2 separate regions of the Homo sapiens genome follow, and region 1 is linked to region 2. Evidence: promoter capture Hi-C in 16 types of primary human blood cells and fetal thymus (Javierre and others, 2016). All regions are on one chromosome and are shown on one strand. Each heading gives the region's core, a stretch centred on a gene start or on the middle of the fragment in contact. The rest is flanking DNA. Distances are from core to core; before and after follow the strand shown. Region 1 holds the start of BIVM-ERCC5 (BIVM-ERCC5 readthrough). Region 2 holds the start of METTL21C (methyltransferase 21C, AARS1 lysine).

Region 1 (6,015 bases), core at 2,833-5,332, 110 kb before region 2:
GCAGGGGCTTTTCCCTGAGAAGCCCTTAAATGTATACCTCAGGTTGATTACCAGCATAGAAACAGCCTATAGCAATCAAAAAACAAAAACTAAAATCAACAAACTCTGGGAAAGATGGGTATTGATTTCCAGAGTTACTGCATTATTAAATAATATTTGAATGTCTAGTTTCCAACAACAACAACAACAAAAAATCACAAGAAACAGAATAAGGCCCATTCAAAGAAACAAAAAAATATATAAACCAACAGAAACCATCCTGGAAAGACCAAATGGCAGACTTGCTAGACAAGGACTTTAAAACCACTATCTTAAAGATGCCAAAAGAACTAACGAAAGATGTATGTATGAAGAACATGGAAATATCAATGAAGAGATAGAAAACTTAAAACCAAAAATAAATTCTTGGGCTGAAAAATATAATAACTGAAATGAAAAACTCACTAGAGTGATTCAAAGGCAGTTTTGAGCAGGCAGAAAAATTAGTGACCTTGAAGATGGGAAAACTGAAATAATTGAGTATGAGGAACAGAAAAAAAAAGGTCTGAAGAAAAGTAAACAGACCTTAAGGGACCTGGGGACACCATCGAGTGGACCAACCTATACATTGCAGAAGTTCCAGAAGGAGAAGACACTGAAAAAGGGGTAGGAGATTATCCAAACAAATAATGCCTAAAAACTTTCCAAATTTGATTTAAAAAACATGAATATAAACATCCAAGAAACTCAACAAATTCCAAATAGGATGAACTTAGAAAGACCCACACCAATATATGTTATAATAAAATTGCAAGGCTGGGCACGGTGGCTCACGCCTGTAATCCCAGCACTTTGGGAGGCTGAGGCAGGCGGATGACCTGAGGTCAGGAGTTCAAGACCAGCCTGACCAACATGGAGAAACTCCGTCTCTACTAAAAATACAAAATTAGCCAGGCATGGTGGCGCACGCCTGTAATCCCAGCTACTTGGGAGGCTGAGGCAGGAGAATTGCTTGAACCCAGAAGGTGGAGGTTGTGGTGAGCCAAGATCGTGCCATTGCACTCCAACCTGGGCAACAAGAACAAAACTCCGTATCAAATAAAAAATTTAAAAATTGCAAAAAGACAAAGACTCTTAAAAGCAACACAAGAGAAGCAACTCATCACATACAATGGACTGTTAATAAGAATATCAACAGATTTCTCATCAGAAACTTTGGAAGCCAGAAGGAAGTGGGCTGATATATTCAAAGTGCTGAAATAAAAAAAAAATTCAAACAAGAATTCTAAATCCAGCAAAACTGTCCTTCAAAAGTGAAGAAGAAACTCAGACATTCCCAGACAAACAAAAACTGAAGGAGTTTATTACCACTAGACTTGCCCTGTAAGGAATGCTAAAAGGATTCCTGCTGGTTGAAATGAAAGGACATTAGCTAGTACCTCAAAGCCATAGGAAGAAATAAATTTACCTCAGTGAAGGTAATACACGAACAATTATAAAAGCCAGTGTTATTTTGTTAGTTTGCAACTCCAGTTTTTGTATTCTATATGATTTATGAGACTAATACATTTTTGAGAAATTATTATTAGCTTAAAAGCTAGTAGTAGGCCAGGAGCAGTGGCTCATGCCTGTATTCCCAGCACTTTGGAAGGCCGAGGCAGGAGGATTGCTTGAGCCCAGGAGTTCAAGACCACCCCTGGCAACATAGTGAGACTCTATCTCTACAAAAAAATATTAAAAATTAGCCAGTCGTGGTGATGTGCACCTGTAGTCCCAGCTACTCAGAAGGCTGAAGTGGGAGGATTGCTTAAGCCTGAGGTCAAGGCTGCAGTAAGCCATGGTCGTGCCACTGCACTCCAGCCTGGGCAAGAGAGCAAGACCCTATTTCAAAATAAAAAATAAAAATAAAAAAGCTATTATTATAATAACTTTGGTTTGTAACTCCACATTTTGTTTTCCACATTATTTAAGAGATTAATACATAAAAATTATTAGTTTATGTTTTCAGACACACAATATATAAATTTGTAATTTGATAACATCAATAACTGAAAGTTAAGTGTGGACGAAGCAGTATAGGAACAGAGTGTTTACATATAAATAACAAGTACTAAAATGACAAGTCTCTCCTTATCAGTGATTACTTCAAATGTAAATGGATTAAATTCTCCACTCAAAACATAGAGACTGGCAGAATGCATTTTTTTAAAAATATGTTTTTGTATACGTGGGTTCACACACAAAAACAGAAACAGAAAAAATTAGCTAACTATATGCTGTCTCTGAAACACTCACTTTAGATCTAGAGATACAAATAGGCTGAAAGTAAAAGGATGGAAATAAGTATTCCAAAGCAAATAGCACCCAGAAGAGAGCAGGGGTGGCTATAAATAAACCAGTCATAAAAAGACAAATACTATATGATTTCACTTACATAAGGTACCTAGAATAGTCAAATTCACAGTGACAAAAAGTAAAATTGTGGTTTCCAGGGACTGTGAGGAGAAGGAATGAGGATTTATTGTTTAATGGGTACAAAGTTTATTTTGTAAGATGAAAAGAAGGGCTGGGCGGGGTGGCTCACGCCTGTAATCCCAGCACTTTGGGAGGCCGAGGCGGGCGGATCACGAGGTCAGGAGGTCGAGACCACGGTGAAACCCCGACCCTACTAAAAATACAAAAAAGTAGCCGGGCACGGTGACAGGCGCCTGTAGTCCCAGGTACTCGGGAGGCTGAGGCAGGAGAATGGTGTGAACCCGGGAGGCGGAGCTTGCAGTGAGCCGAGATCGCGCCACTGCACTCCAGCCTGGGCGACAGAGCGAGACTCTGTCTCAGAAAAAAAAAAAAAAGAAAGAAAAGAAAAGGAAAGAGATTTGGAGATGAATAGTGATGATGGTTGCACAACAACGTAAATGTACTTAATGCCACTAAACTGTACACGTAAAAATGGTTAAGACAGTAAATTTTCTGTTATTAGACATGTATTAGTTTTTAAAAAAGAAATTAAATGGAGAAAAGACAACTTCACAATCATAGTTGAAGATTTTTAACACCCTTCTTTTGGTAATTGATAGAACAAGACACAAGTTAAGCGGAGACACAAAAGATGTGAATGACACTTTCAAACACTTCGACATAATTAATATTTATAGATACTCCCAATGACTGCAGAATGCACATTCTTTTCAAGTGCACATGGCACATTCACCAAGATAGACCATATGTTGGGTCATAAAACAAGTCTCAGTAAATTTAAAAAGACTGAGAGCATATGCCCTCTGTCCACAATGGAACTAAACTAGAAATCAATATTTAGAAAAACTATTAATATCTAGAAATTAAACAGCATACATCTAAGTAATACATGTATCAAAGAATAAATTGCAAAGGAAATTAGAAAATATTTCCAATTAAGTAATAATAATAAGCATATCAAAATTTGTGAGCTGCAGCTAAAGCAGTACTTAGCAATTTGGAGTATTCTATGCTTATGGTAGAAAAGTCTAAAATCAATGATCTAAGCTTCCATCTTAAGAAGTCAGAAAATGAAGAACAAAATAAACCCAAAGTAAGTCAGAGGAAGCAAATAATAAAGAGCAGAAACCAATGAAATAGAAAACAAACAATTGAGAAAATTAACAAAAGCTAGTTATTTGAAAAGATTAACAAAATTGATAAACTCCTAGCTAGATTGATCAGTTTTAAAAAAAATAGAGAAAATAAATTAATTACCAGTATTAGGATGCAAAAGGAGTTGTCAACAAAGATTCCTTAGATGTTAGAGGGATAACATTAACTTTAAGCCCCCAAATTTGACAACTTAAATGACATGGACAAATTAAAATTTGTCAGAAATTAACAGAAATCAAGACAACTCCATAATTATAAATACAGATTTTAATATCTCTCTGAAAATCCTCAGAAAACAGGAGGAAAAAACACTTCCCAACTTTTCTTAGAAGATTTGCATAGCCCTAATTCCAAAACTGGCCAAAGGCATTAGACAAAAAGAAAATTGCAGACTCATTACCTACAAATTTAGACAAAAAAAGCAAAATCCCCCTCCTACCCTTAAGAATTACAAATTTACCTAAAATTCTATGAAACAAATTGATTTTGCAGATAAACAAGCAGAAGCATTAAGGTTTTATAAAATCATCAGAGAAGACTAGAAGTAAATACAAATCCTAGTTTGACCTCCTCTTATTAACTCTGCAACTTCGGTCTAGAGATTTATCCCTTCTAAGCCTCAATTTCTTCACCTACAAATGGGGCTAACAGTACCTGCCTCATAAAATTCCTGTATTACTTTGAATTCAAAAGAAAGAAGTGTAAAGTATTTCTATCTGCCATAGGACCACCCCATTGCAACTGTGAAAGTTATGCACAACCTCGGTAAACAGCATCCTCTTAAATTGAGCAGTACACAACCCACTTGGTGGTACATGGAGGCTTTGCTGGGTGCCTAAAAAATTTTAACAACAAAAAAAGCTAAAACATTATATAGCAGGAAAAAAAGATGTTTGGTCAGGAAATACAACTTCATGTGCCTATAAAACTATGAAACAGTAGTAAGTTATTCTAGCCATGTTATTAACATTTCATTTTCTAAGCTACCATCTGTTTATAATATTTTACATTATTAGATTTTCAAATCTCTCAAAATATTTGATACAAAGCTTATGCTTGAAGTTTCCAGTGGAAGCCCCGCAATGAACTACATGCCCTACGTCAAGGTTACTTTCCTAAAACTACATTGACAGACAAGATGATAGCCATGTTCCTTATCTAGTATTATACAAGGAAACTATGTGTAATGGCAAGATTAAACAAGACATAGTGTTTGTTTTCTCATTATTTTCACATATGAACTTCATGGCTCCCTCCTTACCTGATTTGTGTTTCGAATTTGTGGTCACCCCATCAAATTCAGATTTATCAATTTCCCATGCGAGAGGTAGCTTGCCCAGGCTGTTGGATAAGTTTTCCAAGCTATTTTCTTCATTGTAGATAATTTCCGATGTACTAGTCGGGATACCAATGTATCTTGATGAATTATTTCCAGCAGATAAAGAGGTACTATCAGGGAGGCAAGGAGAGCGGGATGGATTTGGAGTTTTATAGATTGAGGTCGCCTGGTTGAGAAAGGCATAGTCCGAACAGATGGCATAAATTTTTTCCCGTGTATGAGTCACTGGACAACTCCATGGATAATGACCATCTCCTTTGGGACCCAAGGGTGCTCCTGAGGCACTTGTGCAGAAAGATTTTACAGCACCTTGTAGATTCTCTTCAGGTGACTTTCTCTCAGATTTGTGCTCACCATTTCCAGAATCATTTGACCTTTCTGTTTCTGCAACGTTAGGCATTGAATGCAGTGTAAAAGTTTCTATTACTAGAAACAAGTTGCAACTCTATCTGTTTCTTGATAAACAACTTTGACAATTGTTTACAGCATGCTATAAAAGCTTGAGAGCTGCAAAATGAGCTCCTAAGAGGAAGGAAAAAGAATGATCAACAATCCACCAGATACACAAAGAGCCACTAAAAAGCATAGCAAGTTTTATGCATACATATGCCTTCATTCTATATTAATTTTACAACTACTATATGACTGGAGTCACAATCACTATCTTATTTTTTAAATTAGTCTAAAATATGCATTAAATTATTTTCAAATAATTAAAAAATAATTAAAAAGCAAATAGCCCAATTTTTTTTTTTTTGAGATGGAGTTTCACTCTTGTTGCCCAGGCTGGAGTGCAATGGCACAATCTCGGCTCACCGCAACCTCCGCCTCCCGGGTTCAAGTGATTCTCCTGCCTCAGCCTCCCAAGTAGCTGGGATTACAGGCATGCGCCACCACGCCCGGCTAATTTTGTATTTTTAGTAGAGATGGGGTTTCTCCATCTTGGTCAGGCTGGTCTCAAAATCCCGACCTCAAGTGATCTGCCCACCTCTGCCTCCCAAAGTGCTGGAATTACAGATGTGAGCCACCATGCCCGGCCAGCAAATAGCCCAATTTTTAAAAATGGG
Region 2 (5,992 bases), core at 626-3,125:
CCCGTCAATCCCTTCCTGAACCTTTGGAGTCTTCCCGTGGCTGCTTGGGCACTCAGAGTTTCGCTCAATAACAAATTCAGCAATTACAACACCTACTATGTGCCAGGAGCTACCATATGTCAGAGAACAATTCTCAGACAGGGAATTCAGACTTCTTGGTTCCTTCTCACACCTGCAAACAAGAATTGCCAGAGCCTGGAGTTGACGCATGTTAAAGCTTCCGGGTGATTTGGACATAGCCTCTGCCTACAGGTAAGTCCAGCATTTAAGAGCCTTTGATCTACCGTGGTCTAGCTCCAGGCAATAGAGCTCTGATGTATATCTTAAAGCAGCTATCTAAAAGATGGCTTTGAAGAAAGTATTAAAAAGGAACTGTTTTTTAAATTATTTATTTATTTATTTTTATTATACTTTAATTTCTGGGGTACACATGCAGAATGTGCAGGTTTGTTACATAGGTATACACGTGCCATGGTGGTTTGTTGCACCCATCAACCCATCATCTACATTAGGTATTTCTCCTAATGCTCTCCGTCCCCTAAGTCCCCCACCCCCTGACAGGCCCAGGTGTGTGATGTTCCCCTCCCTGTGTCCATGTGTTCTCATTGTTCGACTCCCACTTATGAGTGAGAACATGTGGTGTTTGGTTTTCTGTTCCTGTGTTAGTTTGCTGAGAATGATGGTTTCCAGCTTCATCCATGTCCCTGCAAAGGACATGAACTCATCCTAAAAAGGAACTCTTAATAGGATGCTAGGTTAAAGAGGTACATGTTTCTATCAAGTCACATTTTCAGTAAAATAGCTTTAAAAAAGTTTATACAAAAAAAATAAGCCTAGAAGTTGATACAAAAAAAAAAGTTGGTGAGGTTTCTTTCTCTAGATAGTAGAATTAAAGGAGATCAACATTTTTTCCTTCGTCCTTTGCTTCATTTTAAAGCTTGTAGAATGAACGCATATGTTTGTCTATGTGTGTGTCTACATGCATATAAATATACACACATATATTCACGTACATTGCAATCAGTTTTTAAAAGGTTTTTGTAGAATTGTACTGATGACTATCTTTTTGCTATTTCTCATAGGGACTGATGACACCTGGAAGAAATAAGTTGCAGAGATGCAGAATGCAATCATAGAACTAGATGCATTTGGGGAATAAGAAAGCATTAGAACGATAGAGCTGGAACAAATGCCGGCTTATCCCCAGTCATTTAAGAAAGTGGGAAAGGTGATTTACATGGGACCACAGCACATCTAGATGAACATCCTGAGTGAAAAGAAACTGACATAAAGAACACAAAATAGTGACACCAGAGAAACGAGTACCGAGGGTGGGTACAAAAACAAAAATGGGCTTTTATATCTACTCAGGTTAAAACACCATTCATCCAACTCCCTGGTTGAATGTAGCCTATCACAAGTGATTCTTTAATTCCCATTTGTCTGAGGCTTTACTTTGTGTGACCTATATTCTATTTTAAGGGTTTCTGAGCTTCACAAATGAGCACATGATTTTTCTCCTTCCCTTTTGACTATCCCTTATTTCAGTTAAATAAATCACAATGGCTTACTTTTTCTTGGAAGAGTTTTTCTGATTTCCTCTTCCCTCTGCTCTAAATCCCCCAGATTCAACGTTAAGCCTTTGACTCCCGTCCCTTCTCATGGATAGATGCTCTCCTTTCTTCCTCCCCAAAGCATTCCCTTCCTCTTGGTAGATCCTTGTGTTCTTTCTGGCTGCCTGGATACGGGTCCTAGGCAGAGGCTGGGTGGGCATGTCCTCCCTGTGGCTACTGGAGTTTGGCAAATGAGCACAAAATTTGCAAGTCTGTGCAACTGTCCAACACCCACTTCTTTGAAAAGTGAACTGGAAGTCTAACGTTTCGAACCACATCGCAGCAACTGGATGCCACAGGGGCAGCCTCTGTTCTGTTCCAGTGATATTCCTGAAACTTTTGAAGGGAATTCCATTGAATGTTGCTAGGACTGTGCGTGTGTGTGTGTGTGTGTGTGTGTGTGTGAGAGAGAGAGAGAGAGAGAGAGAGAGAAAGAGAGAGAATTCTAGCAAAGTAATGTGTCTATGAGGACTGGTAGATAATGCTACCCTAAATAACTTGGGCTTCCACTGGCTGGATTTTGTTCATCAAATGCTAATCCTTTCAGGTGTAGACCTATATAAAACACTGGGGATTAAAGAGTGCACAGAAGCCTCACATCTCTTCTGCTGCATAAGGTAAAGATACGTGTAACAATTCAAAATTATTTTGGGCATACTAACAAGGAGTCATTTCCAATTCTGTATTAATTACGAACATGCGATGTAGATCATAGATGTGCTGAACTAGTAACAGTCAGTCAGTAGATTATAGTCGTTCTTTTGTAGATTGCTTTTCAATGCACAGCTGTCTTTGGGACAGCCGGCTATGGACGTGTGTCTGAGCTCCGCGCAGCAGCCTGGGCGCCGGGGGGAAGGACTCAGCTCCCCGGGTGGCTGGTTAGAGGCTGAGAAGAAGGGGGCTCCGCAGAAAGACAGCACCGGGGGAGTCCTAGAAGGTAACCTCCTTCTTCATCACTTCAACAGTTTTCCTCAGTTGTTTTCCTGGCGATGACATCTTCAAGTAAATTTCAGTGACAAGAATTTCCATTTCCTTTTAACATTAGATTTTTTGCTATAATGAAGCTTAGCAGAAAAATGTTTTGCAAGTATAAACATAATTCCTGTTTTTTCATTATTTACTTATTAAAAGTAATTCCTGGTTTTTCATTACTTATCAAAGTTTGCACATTTGTTTTTTTTCTATGTATAGATCTAAGCTTGCTGTATTTTTGTAACAAGAACTTAAAAGAAGAACAAAAAATCTAGGTTCATTTCTGCTTTTCACCAAAATACATTCTTGGTAGCTTTGTCATACAGTGAATCTTTATAAATCAAACTGTATTTCCCCGTTAGGACAATGTAACAGTTTAGGGTTACATTTCTGGGCATGGATTCAGTTGTAAATAAATAATAGACATAACAAATGATCTAATAAAAGCCAAGATGCAGCATTTACAGTGTTCATAATTAAAGGTGGTAAAAAATGTATCCCAACTCCAATAAATGAGAATGTTGTCTATTTTTACTGCATTGTTTACGTAAAAATGCAACTCTACCTTATCTGAAAATCTGATCTCTCTAAAACTATCAGAATAGCACAGAGAATAAATGAAAATATTTCAGGCACAAAAACATATGTTTCTTTATCGTTGTAGAACCTCACAGGGTCTTATGAGAGAATACGTGTATGTCTATGTTTCCTTACAATGTTGATTGGAAAAGTGCAGCTGTCAAGCTTAATATTTGTCAGTTTATTTACCTGTGAAATGATGAGCCATTCAAAATCAGCCTACTTACTCTTCCTAGTCTCTAGAGAAAAATAAGTCCCCAGATGGTGACATTTGGAAGGAGGGACAGGCATGGCCTGGATGAGAGTGGGGCAGGGCAGGGAAGCCGGCAGGGGCTGGTACAGGTCCCTGATGCTCTGAGCCACCACCCAGTGGTGTGCTGGCGACGGCTTGTACTGGCACCTGAATTTCAGCATTTTTTGTAGCTGATTGTTATATATAACCATCATTTAAATTTAAGTTAGAATCTTATGATTAAATAGATTATATTAAAGACAAAGGTATATTAAAAGCAAAGTTGATAAACACTCAAAACTCATCATCAATTATTCTATTACCTCTTCCTAATATCTATGCTCTCGAGGTTAATCGTGTCTGTGGTGTCTGTACGGTAGGAACACTACACAGTGGCGAGGTACTGCACGTCTTTCCCCAGCGAAGTCATGCTGCTTCTCTGAAAACGGCACGGTGGGAGTATTTACTCCAGAGCAATCGTCAAACGCTGTCAATCACCGCTTCTTCCCCTCTTGCTGAACTAGTTATTAAACATTAATCACCCTATTTTTCGGCCTTCCTCCTGCCTCTAAACCAGAATTCAGAGCCAGCCTCTCAGCCCTGTGTTGGGAGCTGGGGTTCTGCTAGATGTCAGTGGCTTCCCAAAAGAGGTGGGGAAAGCTACAGGGCTCCCTCCTTTCCCTACAATCTCCCTACAGCCTCCTACCAGGGCAGGTGACCGCAAAGGACAAGGTCTCAGGACTGAATTGGTTACCTTTATTAGAGGCGTCTTGCAAGTTCACTGAGGTCCCAGGTTTCTGGAAGCTCACCTTTTTTGTCAGGGCAGAGAATTCTCCTTCAAAGTGGTAGAACATACTAAATCAAAGTCACAGGCTAAAACAACACTCTGAAGAACTGAAGGCACCCATGATGCTAATTTACAAATGAGTCACTTCATTCACATTTTTTTTTTAGTGTGCTGCACACTGATACTTTTGTAATATACAACAAAAATGAATTTCTAGAGAAATTAAATGAAAATATATACAGACATATAAAATACAAGCTCCGGGTTTTGTTTGTAGTTAGATTCAACAGGCATCGTCAAATGGTTGTGACTGTTTCTAAAGGCTCACTCCAAATCCCTCTACTTACTGTGGAGCTGTTATCAGCATTTGCAGAGCAGTGGCAGGGAACTGTTCCAGTGTGTATGGAATGAGTGAGACCTGAAACACCCGGAGGCCCTGCCCCCGACCTGAGGGATGCCCTGCTGACCAGGTTTCTCCCAAGACCCACTTCCCTTTGCCTCGTATTCACCTCCTCCTGCCTTCCACCTTGAGAGGCTATTTCAGATTAAAACACTTCCAATGTTCACCGGCTGCCCCCTTCTACCTTTGTCCAAAGCCCATATTTGACCCCCGGTTAAACATTTTACAGTCATATCCCAGGCCACAAAGGCAGGTTTCGTGCAAACAAAACTGACCTTCCTCCCCCCTACTCTCCGCACTGTTAATTCTTTCCCACCCGCTGGGACCAACACCTTTTCCTCTGCTCCTGCTCCTTCTTCCACACACTTTGACTCACTGCTCTTTTATTCCTAAACACTCTGGAAAACCTGCAAACACTTGTGATCTCTTGATGTCAGCCCGATCAGGTGCTCTTTTCCTCTCATTTTATATGCCATCTGAGAGCTGCTAGATGGGTCATGGGTTTAAAGGAGTATTTAAAGCAATAGTAACTTAATAGCCAGAGCTCAGCTGACATCCTCCCCCAGGGCTGTGGGGCTGGCTGGGCCTCTACCTTTTGAACAGCAATTGTAGGAAAGATTGAAGGAACATGCTCCAGCCAACACGTGGGAATGTTACTTCACTTCAAGACCTAAAAATAGGCAGGTCTGGCGGGGCGTGGTGGCTCACGCCTGTAATCCCAGCACTTTGGGAGGCCAGGACGAGTGGATCACGAGGTCAGGAGTTTGAGACCAGCCTGACCAACATGGTGAAACCCCGTGTCTACTAAAAATACAAAAATTAGCTGGGCGTGGTGGCGCACGCCTGTAATCCCAGTTACTCAGGAGGCTGAGGCAGGAGAATCACTTGAACCCGGGAAGCAGAGGTTGCGGTGAGCTGAGATTACACCACTGCACTCTAGCCTGGGCAACAGAGTGAGACTCTGTCTCAAAAAGAAAAAAAAAAAAAGGCAGGTTTGTGTTTACCTAGTTCCTCTGTATCCAGACAGCTCATTCGTGCAATTTTGCTGGTAAGTTCGCCATTTTTCCATCAGCAAAATTTAGGGTGGGGACCGATCCACACATCTTCTGTCCTCCCCTAAATAAAGAAAAGGCCCAGAGCATTCTTTGGCATTTTGTCATCTGATAAAACTGTCACATCCAAATTTCATGTCCCCATCACCCCATATAATTCAATTTTGTGCCAATTTGCAGCCGTTCTCCTTGATAGCATCATCCCTTCTCTTTATGTAAAGGTCATTCAATCTAATGCCATCTTAGCAATTATACCAAGTGTGTCTTTGCACTGGATTTGAACAAATCATGAACTCCATTTTATTTTTCTGCTTCACAGAATCCAACAAGATAGAACCATCTCTTCATAGCCTCCAG

The links. The method cuts DNA at HindIII sites, captures the fragments that hold promoters and counts their contacts. A CHiCAGO score of 5 or more calls a contact.
Region 1: a fragment that was not itself captured here is called in contact with the fragment with the promoter of METTL21C in region 2 in 9 of 17 cell types (naive CD8 T cells, total CD8 T cells, non-activated CD4 T cells and 6 more); the score reaches 7.9 in naive CD8 T cells.

What each region holds. Positions count from the first base shown.
Region 1 is chr13:102,806,601-102,812,615 of GRCh38, reverse strand. It overlaps BIVM (basic, immunoglobulin-like variable motif containing), which reads right to left. Exons shown (of 11, transcript NM_017693.4): 3 at 4,871-5,470. The coding sequence starts at 5,348. It overlaps BIVM-ERCC5 (BIVM-ERCC5 readthrough), which reads right to left and starts at 5,470. Exons shown (of 23, transcript NM_001204425.2): 1 at 4,871-5,470. The coding sequence starts at 5,348. The HindIII fragment of the contact is 1,157 bases long and covers 3,504-4,660 here.
Region 2 is chr13:102,690,927-102,696,918 of GRCh38, reverse strand. It overlaps METTL21C (methyltransferase 21C, AARS1 lysine), which reads left to right and starts at 1,875. Exons shown (of 4, transcript NM_001010977.3): 1 at 1,875-2,550; 2 at 5,955-5,992. The coding sequence starts at 2,421. The HindIII fragment of the contact is 1,740 bases long and covers 940-2,679 here.